Linked DNA regions of Homo sapiens: all the other regions are linked to region 2. The links are contacts of gene promoters, found by promoter capture Hi-C in blood cells and fetal thymus (Javierre and others, 2016). All regions are on one chromosome and are shown on one strand. The core of a region is centred on a gene start or on the middle of the fragment in contact, and the rest is flanking DNA. Distances in the headings are between cores, read along the strand shown. Region 1 has its middle 28 kb from the start of GRM5-AS1. Region 2 holds the start of RAB38 (RAB38, member RAS oncogene family). Region 3 overlaps GRM5 (glutamate metabotropic receptor 5).

Region 1 (3,432 bases), core at 401-2,900, 300 kb after region 2:
TCCCGACCAGCTATTGTCACTTTCCTTCAAGTAGCTCCTTTGATCAGTCTCATCTGATAAAGTGCTCTGTCCTGCCTCAGTACCTTGTATCAGTGCTGTTCCCTGCTTTGGAATGCCTTTTCTATGTCATACCACATATTCAGTGCTACTGGTTCCTCAAAATCAAGTTCCTCTTTTAAAGCTCTCCTCCACAAACATATTTTGAGTTTTAAATTAAGTAATCTCTTGCTCTCTCTTCTTGTGCTATCACAGCACCTCATTTATAGTACTGTATGTAAATAATTCTAGGGTATAGGGAAGATGGAGCCCATGAAAATGGAAAGAACAATTCCATTTAGGATATAGAATACTCCTCTATGGAATGCCGGTGTTAAGTAAACCACCTACTTCAGTCACCTTTTTTACAAGTAAGGAACTTAAGATCTTATGAGAGAAAGGGACTTGTTATGTATTGACAGAAACTGCTGTCTCTGATTCCAGGATATTTAATCAATACTATCCGTCTGCCTTATCATCCATAAAATAAAATGCTAAGCAGCCACTAAACATGATGATGGAAACCTTGGAAAAAATATCTATGGAAATGTTCAAAGAAGAAGATTAATAAAATGTTCATTGTATTTGATTTTATTTATGTAAGATTATGTATGCATATGCACAGATGTGTGTGAGGTGTGCATGAGAGAGGAAAAAAAGAAATAGAGACAGAGAAGAGATATCTGTGAAAGAATGTTCATCTAAGTTCTAACAACGTTCACGTATGCGTAATGACATTTTTTTCTACATCATTTTTGGCATCATTTAAAATATTTATTGAAAGAATACATTATGTTTATGATTAGAACAAAACACAAAATGGCTGAATTAATATTTGGAAAAGGATAGGAAATTACTTCCTTCATATATTTACTTGGGAGATGCAACACAGATTGTATTAGAGGATCTCTGTCATTTTTTTAAAAATGTCCATTTTGATGGTATTTTCAGAAAGGACTTTTTAACCAGGTAGTAAGGACAGAACTGACTACATTCTCTATTCCTTTCAAATTCAACCTTAGGTAAATTAACAAAGTTGCTGTAGTTCTACTCCTATTAAAAAGAAAGAACACAATTTCCAAATAAAACATCTGTACTTTTTTTCCCTGAGGTATTTCATGATCATATTACCCAAGAAGATTGAAAGTTTCCTGTGTGTTTCCTTTAACAATCTGTGTGACATGTTTATAAGCAATTTAAAAGCATGGCCAAAAGGGACATGGATGGACTGAAGGATCACACTTTAAATAAATTCCATTTAAAGATCACGTTATACCTATGCAGTCTTCCCAGAACCAGGCACACTGTAACTTTTAACAGCATTCCTGATTGACTCACTGAGAATATTTCACTAAATCTCTGACTGTTCCTCATAACAAGGACATGAGGATTCTGTTTAAACAAAAATGTTTTAACATTCTGGGAGCAACAGATTTTTTTTTCATAGGCATGTTCTTTGATTGTTTGTCCTGGTTCCCATCAGTTGGTACACTTACTTCTGCCTAGTTTCAGCATCTGTCCTGCCCACTTAAGAGCCCATGCCAATGTGCTAATCATAACTCCATGTAGTTTTAATTTGGGCAGCATCTGTTATTTCACATTGCTGAGGCAGTGCCATGTGGTGCCAAGAGTATGGGCCTTGGAGCCAGACAAACTTGGGCTTGTGCCTTGGTCTTACCCATTACCAAGTGACCTTAGATAATATGCTTAACTTATTTGAACCCCAATTTCCTCATGTGAGAAAGAGAGTAATACTAAATCCTGGTCATTGTGAGGAATTAGGAAATCAGTGTATGTGTTTGTAGAGTGTTTAGCAGTGATTGGCATATTGTAGGTTCTCTACAATGTGTAGCTATTAAGAATCTAATTAAAACCTCTTCACTTCTCTCCTAAGTGATACCATGATGCTTTTTCTCTATGATAATTGTGATGTGAAAACTGTTAGGTGGTTCATGGTCTTTTCTATAGCAATATGCGTCATTTGGACTTTAAAATATTTTATTTTACAAAGTACCTCTGAATATAGTATGTTACCACAACAATCCCATGAGATGTATAGGTATACATACATATATATACACATATACACAAGAGCACACACACACACATATAATATCCTCATTTAACTAATGAGACCATTGAGGCTAAAATGGTTAAGCCTTAAAGTACTTTAGGTAGGAAGAGGGGAGGTTAGTAATAGAATCCAGGTGTTCAGAAATGAGGAACAATTGTCTGTATAACACATCCATGTAGCCCCCCAGCTTTTGACTGCTAGTTTACAGCGATGGCTGCAAGTCTTGCTTCAGGTTGGTCATAGAAACACAACTACCTATTCAATTTAAAATATAAAAAAACTTGAGTTCTTACTGTTTGTCAGGCATACTGCTGGATATTTGTACAAATATCACATCATGTAATCTGGGTAGCAACTCTCTGGAGTAGGTATCATCTCTATTTTACAGATAAGGTCAGTTGACTTGTCTGTGGTTGCACCCCCACTAAGGGTTGGATGCAAAAATGTTTGAAAAATATTGGATCAAATGGCCTATAAATCCTAACGAGTTATATACTTTTAGGCTTCTTTTCCCCAAAGACATTGCTTATGTGGAATTCTAACTTTTAGAAGTGAGTCATTTTCATAATTTCTGAGATCAACTAAGCAAATCAAGAGAGCACAAAACTAAACAGCAATAAGAGTGATCAATCTACAAGTGCTCCAACCATATGGATGAATTTCCCAAACATAATGTTGAGTGACAGAAGCCAGATACAAATAGTATAAATTGTATTCCATTTATAGAGAGCATAGAAAAAGACACATCCCATATAGGATGTTAGAAGTAAGGAGAGTGGTTAGTCTTTGGGAGAGGCGGAGGCAGAGGCAGAAAGGAAGCAGAAGGGGCCCTTCTGTGTGTTGGTTTCATCTGTGTTCAGCTTACACTTCTGGTATGTACTCTTTTCTGTATTTATTATATTTAATAGAAAGTTGTTAGAAAACTATGTGCTTGATGCTACATGAAATTAACACTAATTGGCTATTAACTTTTAAAAATATGGTTAGATATGTTTTAATTTGGGGCCTCCTTCGGGTTGGCCTTTCAAAGAGCACAAACCCAGGAAGTAGTAAGAATGACCTCTTTTGGAAGCCTGGGGATACTGGTAAGAAGAGAAGATTCTAAAACTTCTATAGGGAGTGTAAGCAAAAAGCATTTTTCTGCAGAGGCTGTGTGTTCAAAGAGTTTGCTGAGGAAGGAGTGTAGCAGTGCAGAGGAAAGTCAGCATGCAGTCAGCAACCACCAGCAGAGCCAGGTGAGAGAGCTGATCCTAATGATCCTGGGCACAGGCTAATAAAAGGTGGGCTAGTCATCTCTCAAAGACCCCACCTCTGAATATTAT
Region 2 (3,691 bases), core at 558-3,057:
ATCTGAATCCTGAGGACTTTCGAGCAGCCAGAAGGGTTTTCAGACATTATGACATGCAGCAAGAAAGTACACAGAGAGAATTTTTTTAGATGAAAAGCCCCATCCAACAGTGGCTGATAACATTTTCTGTTCTCTGATAACCCCCTTGCTACTAGAGCAGCTGAAGATGACTCCAAATGCATGAATCTGTTCATCTGTTCACATGCTAAAAGAAAAAGGCCTGGCAGTTCATGATTAAAGAGGCACGAAAGTCCCCAGATCACAAATGCCCTTTCAAAAATTTTCCACATTTGTTCTAGTTTCAAGCCATGATAAAGAGTTTCCAATCAAATGCATCAGCTAAAATGAATCCATTTTCTGAAACAGAAGTGGCTAGTTTGGGTCCAGCACTTATAACGAAAGGTTCCTGGTGTCACAGACCATGAAATAAGACTGTTTGAAGTTGTTCCCATGGAGAATCCCAGAGGACTTTAAAACTTCTGAGCAGGAAGATCCTTGACCCTTGCCCAACTCCTTTCCACTTAACAGCGATGCAACTGAGCTGAAGAGACTTGTCCAAAGCCACTGAGCAGGTTAGTTAGTGGCAGGGCTAAAATCTGTAATGAGGGGTTGGTCATGCGCAGGTTGCAAACAGCCTTGTCCAAGGATTCACACTTGGAGTAGATACATTGCACCCTCACTTTTGACTAGGCCTAACTTCTGGTACAAACCTGTGGAGTCAAAATCTGATTTTAAATATTGTAAAAAACAAAAACAAACAACCTCTCATTTTTCAGATCTCTCAATGAAAACTTTAGGGCCAAATCAAGAAATCATAAGGCTATCATAGGCCCTTACATAAAAATGGCCTTAAAATATACACACAACCTCCTTTTCATAGAAGACAGAGAGCCAGAGAGATAGAAATACAGAAAGAGAGGGAGAAAGAATACTTTGCCCCTGACATATACACACAAAAGTACTTGGCTTACTGTAAGCAAAAAGCAAAAAAAAAAAAAAAAAAAAACAAAACAAAAACCCTCAAACTCCTTTGTCTTAAGGGCAGAGAGAAAGGTGACAAAATTTGAAATAAAGTGAGCCACTGAAGACAGGAATGGGCAAACTCCAGCTAGCCTGGAACTATCCCGGTTTCCTCTGTGAACCAGCCTAGGGGCTTCCCCTCGGTCCGCCCCTGCACGGAAGGACGTGCGTGACACTGGGCTGCGTCATTGGCAGAACTGCCCGCGCCCAGAAAACGAGCTGGAGTGGAGAACAGAATGCAATTGCAGACAATCTTCCTCTGGTTCCCTGGGGAGGCCTGCTCTGGGCAGAGAGATCCCAGGGGACTGTGCGGGAAGGAGCTAAAGCAATAGCCCAAAAGCGCCAGGGAATGCACTTGAAGTTTCAGACGTTTTTCTTTTCTTTGAAACTAAGTTTCCAGCCCACCAGGAAAAACTGCCTCGCGACCTAGTGATTTTAATCTCACGCTTGGCCGCAAGCCGCTGCCTCGAGACTGGAAACCGGCCGCGAGGCGCTCTATCCCCCTGACCCCCTCCCCCCGCGCTCACCTGCGATATCCCAGAGCTGCAGGCGCACCACAGTCTCCGGGTCCCAGTGGAGCACCTTGAGCGCGAAGTCCACGCCGATTGTGGCCCGGTAGTGCGAAGAGAAGTTCTGGTGCACGTAGCGCTTGATGATACTGGTCTTCCCCACGCCCAGGTCGCCAATCACCAGCAACTTGTACAGGTGCTCCTTGTGCGGGGCCTGCATCCTGGCGGCCGGCCAGACGTGCCGTGCCTGACCAGGGAAGCGCAGCCTGGGCTCTGCGCACGAGAGAGACTTGGGGAGCGCAAGTGTAGGTGCAGAGAGAGGCGTGGGCGGCGGGGCGGGGGCTGGGGGGCGGAACTCCTCCCCTAGGGGTTAATCCTCCTTCCTACTCCGCGGTCTTGGAGAGGGGAGGAGACAGGAGCGAGTCCCGGGACTGGCAGCTGAAAGGGGTTCGCGTGTGGTTGCCTGTTGCAGCGCTTATTTATCCGGCGCTTTAGAGTTTCCGAAGAGCTGTTTTCACCTGTGACCCTGGCCACAAACTTGTGAGGTGTGGATCTTATTTTCCACGTTTTGCTTGCGAGAAAACTGATTGTGAAAAAGTACTCTGCGGGAGATGGCCGGTGAAAGGCCCCGTTGACCACAGGTCTGAAGTCACAGGCTCTTAACTACCCCACACTGTAGAGAGAAATTACAGTATTAGGAAGCCCAAGACTGGCTGGGCTTGGTTCCTGCGTGCCCTGGTTTTTAAGTTGAGGGACCATAAGTAAGTCATTTGAGCTCTCACAGCCTGTTATTTCTCAATGAATGGCAATGCTGACCTCTGAGCAGCTTGGAGGTGGGAACACTGAGCACTTTCACACCCATTCAACTGGTAATCAGTTAACAAGGAGGACAACTGGGCCGAAAATGCCAAGGGCACTGGTGACTTTTAGCCTCTTCCCATATCCTAAAAACTCAGAGCTGCACAGAAAGACAGTTTTAACAATCGGTCAGATTATTACAAATAATAATAATGGCAAACATTTATTGAGCACTCGCTATATGCCAGAGGGTTTATAAATTATGTCATTTAGTCATCCCAGCTGTCTTAATAATAGATACCATTTTTCTTCCTATTTTACAAATGAGGAAGCTAAGGACCAGACATTTTAAGTAATGGACCCAGAGTCAAATAGTAAGGAAAAAAACCAAATTCAAACATAGGTCTTTAGGTTCCCAACTTCTTTTTGTTGTTTTTGTTGTTTGTTTTCATTCATTTGACCAATATACATTTTATTACCAATTAATATATGACAAATTGTACTTATTTTGTCTTGTCTGTCTCCACCTACAAGAAGGTAAATTTTTTTGAGGCCAGTAGGCATTGTCTGCGTTAGGATTTCTGTATCATCCTCCTAACGCAGACAATGCCTACTGGCCTAAGAAAAATTTACCTTCTTGTGGGTGGAGACAGGACAAGACAAAATAAATACAATTTGTCATATATTAATTGGTAATAAAATAAGGCAGAAAGGGGATGTGAAGAGATTATATGGGGTTTGCCTTTTAGATAGGGTGGCCAGGGAAGGTTTCAGTAAGATGGAGACAATTTAGTAAAGACATAAAGAAAATGAGAAATTGGGCATTCAGGGCTAGGGGGTGAGCAGTTTATACCAAAATGAGCTATTTTGTACCTGAATGTGCTGTGAAGGAGCTCTGCTCACATTCTATCATTTCATCTTCTCAATTGCTTTATGAAGTGGGTTATTTTCTTCAATTTATAAATAAGGAAACCAAGATTAACAGCAGCTTTCTCAAGGGCACACATAACTAGTATGTGTTAGAACTAGGACTTAAACACAGGCCTGTGTGAAAGGGAGAAAGGAGGTTTGGCAAGGCCATTGTCTTTCTGCCTTCCTCTTCTGGCCTGACACTCCCTAAACTTTAGCCTCCACATGCCCCAAACAAGCAGAGGGATGCTGAAGATGTGTACCCGGGACAAGTCACATAACCTCTGAGCCTTGGTTTCCACATCAACGAAAGGAGAATGATAATACCTATGGCAGGGCATGGTTGCTCATGATTGTAATCCAAGCACTTTGGGAGGCTGAGGTGGGTGAATCACTTGAGGTCAGGAGTTCAAGACCAGCCTGGCCAACATGGTGAAACCCGTCTCTACTAAAAA
Region 3 (3,446 bases), core at 159-2,658, 350 kb after region 2:
GAAGGAAATAAGAAATACGTACACAAGTAATTTTAGATGTAGGCATAAAGAAGAGAGGAAAAGAACTTAGAGACTTTGTTAAAGGAGGTAAATCATCAGACCAAGCTAGATTGAGTAGACTTAATTTTACCAAGAAAATACCTTAGAAGTACCAATGGCCAAATGATGCTCAATGTTTCAATGCAAAGTATTTTGTGCTTCTTTGTGAATTGGATTGCTCAAGCAAAATACTGCTCGACAGCTCAAATTAAAAGAATATTGATAGAATAATAAATTATTGGTGGTCATTCACTTCCTTACAAAGGGATCCTTAACATATTTTTGAATATCTTCTGTTAGGCTAATTGTGAATTAATCATTAAATATTTCATAGATGAGTTAAGAAACCTACAGTCTTCATGCTTATAAGCTCTTCTCTTTCTTTCTTTCTCTCATGACCACACACACTCTGCCAGGTGACCTCTGTTTATGAAATATGGAATAGATCCTAAGCATCTTATTCTATCAAACTCTAACCTCTGTGAAGAAAAAGGAATGCTTACACACTGCTAGTGGGAATGGAAATTAGTTCAGCCACTGTGGAAATCAGCTTGGCAATTTCTCAAAGAACTTAAAGCAGAACTACCATTTGACCCAGAAATCCCATTACTGGTCATATACCTAAAGGAATATAAATCTCTCTATCATAAAAACACATCCATGTATATGTTCACTGCAGCACTATTCACTATAACAAAGTCATGGAATCAACCTAAATGCCCATCAACGGTAAAATGGATAAAGAAAATGTGGTACATATACATCATAGAATACTATGCAGTCATAAAAAGAATGAGATCATGTCCTTTACACATGAATAGCACAGGAGGGCATTATCCTAACCAAACTAATGGAGAAACAGAAAACCAAGTACTTCATGTTTTCATTTATCAATGGGAGCTTAACACTGAGTACGCATGGACACAAAGGGAAAAATAGACACTGGGGCCTCCATGAGGGTGGAGGGTGGGAGGAGAGTGAGGATCAAAAAACTACCTACCAGATTCTATACTTATTACCTGGGTGATGAAATAATCTGCATATTATACCCCTGCAAAACACAACTTACCTATAAAACAAACCTGCACATATACCCCTGAACCTAAAAGTTTAGAAAAACCATAGAAACAAAACAAAAAACAAAAACAAAACCTAACTGCTTTTGGTAAAAGCTTTCACTGACATATAAAAAACAAAATAATGAAAATTCAAAACAATAATAACAAAACTCATTTTAAAAATGTGAGCAATATCTTAGACTTTTTGGAACTTTCAAGCAGTTTTTGTATTCAATGCAAGCTGAAAATGGCATTAATACAGAATGGGAAACTCATCATTGCTTTCAGATAGGACCCTACTTGCCTGTCTGTACCTGTAATTATATTCACCAGATATTTAAATAGATCATATTTTTATTCATTCACTTACTCATTATCCCATTTACCAGTAATGTGCTGTTCAAAATTACTAATAGATTTAATAGTCTCAACTGTTGAGTTTAAAAACTCAACATTTTTTTCCAGTTGAGTTTATTTTAGAAATATGGAATTGTCAATTAAAAATAGTTTAAGCTTTTCAGAATTTACAGATCATGGAATATCAATTTTAAAATTTCATTTCTTTTACATAATAAATTTATATATCAGATACTAAAACACCCATACACTCATACTTGTAAGGCACTGTTTCAAGTGCTTTGCAAGTATTAACTCACTTTTCAAATGAAATGTTTAATTTACTATATTTATATTCAAAGTTATAATAAAAAGTAATAATGACAAAATATTGAGCATGCCAGGCTGTTTGCTGTACACTATTGTAAATTATTAAAACAGCCATACAAAGCAGCTGCTATTATTCTCATTCTGAAGAGGCAGACACTGAAGATCAGTGTCAGTAAGCCCAACCTCATGTGGTTTATGAGCAGGGAGCCCAAGGTTAAAAATCAGGTTTCTCTGATTCTAAAGCTCATGCTATTTCCATTAATTTTTCCTCCAAGTAACAATATTACTACGTTTAAAAACAAAATTACAAAAGCTTATTATTTACCTTTTCTCTTCTTGACCCCGTTTTGCAAATAAGTAGCAGAGTTATCAAGTACAGGCAGTAGAGAATCTAGTGATAGGACTTTAAATTTTGTTACTTCCTTTAGGTCCCTATGCCTGTACCAGGCAGGTTTAGTTGACATCATTCAAAACCGTTTACTGAATAGTCCATGTGCTGGGCACTGTGATAAGGAGCATATGGGTGATTATGTCATTGATAAGGTCACAGTCTTGAATGAGAAGATGAAATGTAAACAGATAATTTCCAAACAATGTAAGAAGTTTTATTATAGAAACAAATACAAGAAGGGTTACTTAACCCATACTAGATTGGCAGAGAACACTTTAGTGAGATATGATACGTAAGACAAATCTGAAAAATTGAGCAGACATGCACCGTGAAGAGAAAATCAGGTGCAAACATGTAGAGAGGTTTAGCAGCATGGTGTATACTGGGAAACACTGTTTAGTAATTTTTATTGTAAGAAGTATAAAATAGGAGGTCAAAGGGGAAAGCAGATGGAGAAGTATATAAAAATGATGAATTTGCTTGTTGATTATGAGATGTCATTGTGGAATCCTTATGCTACATAAAACAGGATCAGAGTTGACATTTAGATAAAATGCAATGGACTTGAAGGAACAAAACTAGAGAGATAGAGAAATACTACTACAGTTATGCATGTGAGAGATGATAAGCTAATGCTTAGGGTAGCGATAATACAGATGAAAAATAGAGCACAGTCTCAAGACTATTTGGGAGGCAAAAATGAGTAGGATTTATTGGATGATGAGTATAATAGGAAGAAGTATAGAATGATACCCCAGTTACTGTGTTGGATGGTGCAGTTAACTGAGTTAAGAAAATTCAAGAGAAGGAGTATATTTGGGCAAGGAAGTAAAAAGCTTCATTTTGGAATATTTGATTTGAGATGCTGGTGGGACATCCAAGTGGACATATTCAGCAGACACATGAGTATAAACATTTGGAGGTTAGAGGATTGTTATACACAGGGGAGCTCTCAGCATACCGATGGTTGCAAATACAATGAGAATGGTTGAAAATATTCAGAACAGGAAAACTATGTAGACAGTGGAAAGAAGAGGTGAATAGCCATGCTCATTCTACCTGTCCAAAAACTTTTATAACACTGTTAGTGTAAGCATTCCCTTAAAACATTTACTGGAAAAAAAATCTGCTGAGTGCCTTGTATATGCTAGACATGGAGTTTAAGGCTCTTCAATCTTGTAAACCTGTAAGTTTTCTTATAAACTATGGATTTCTAGATTTATGCCTAATACAGCTTTGACACTTTAGTTTATAGGCCAGAAGCTTGGCATGAAAAACTCTCACAATAGATT

The links. Contacts are between HindIII fragments. The CHiCAGO score rates a contact against its expected background, and 5 or more counts as called.
Region 1: a contact is called between a fragment that was not itself captured here and the fragment with the promoter of RAB38 in region 2, in 1 of 17 cell types (total CD8 T cells). The highest score is 5.4, in total CD8 T cells.
Region 3: a contact is called between a fragment that was not itself captured here and the fragment with the promoter of RAB38 in region 2, in 3 of 17 cell types (activated CD4 T cells, megakaryocytes and M0 macrophages). The highest score is 6.1, in activated CD4 T cells.

The regions. Positions count from the first base shown.
Region 1 is chr11:88,474,701-88,478,132 of GRCh38, forward strand. No RefSeq gene overlaps it. Among named protein-coding and RNA genes, the nearest start is that of GRM5-AS1, 28 kb to the right of the region's middle. The HindIII fragment of the contact is 4,294 bases long and covers 1-3,432 here.
Region 2 is chr11:88,173,636-88,177,326 of GRCh38, forward strand. RAB38 (RAB38, member RAS oncogene family) reads right to left here and starts at 1,808. Exons shown (of 3, transcript NM_022337.3): 1 at 1,548-1,808. The coding sequence starts at 1,749. MIR3166 (microRNA 3166) reads left to right here and starts at 2,867; the gene lies at 2,867-2,958. The HindIII fragment of the contact is 9,633 bases long and covers 1-3,691 here.
Region 3 is chr11:88,526,938-88,530,383 of GRCh38, forward strand. The region is part of intron 8 of GRM5 (glutamate metabotropic receptor 5); the gene reads right to left. Among named protein-coding and RNA genes, the nearest start is that of GRM5-AS1, 24 kb to the left of the region's middle. The HindIII fragment of the contact is 399 bases long and covers 1,210-1,608 here.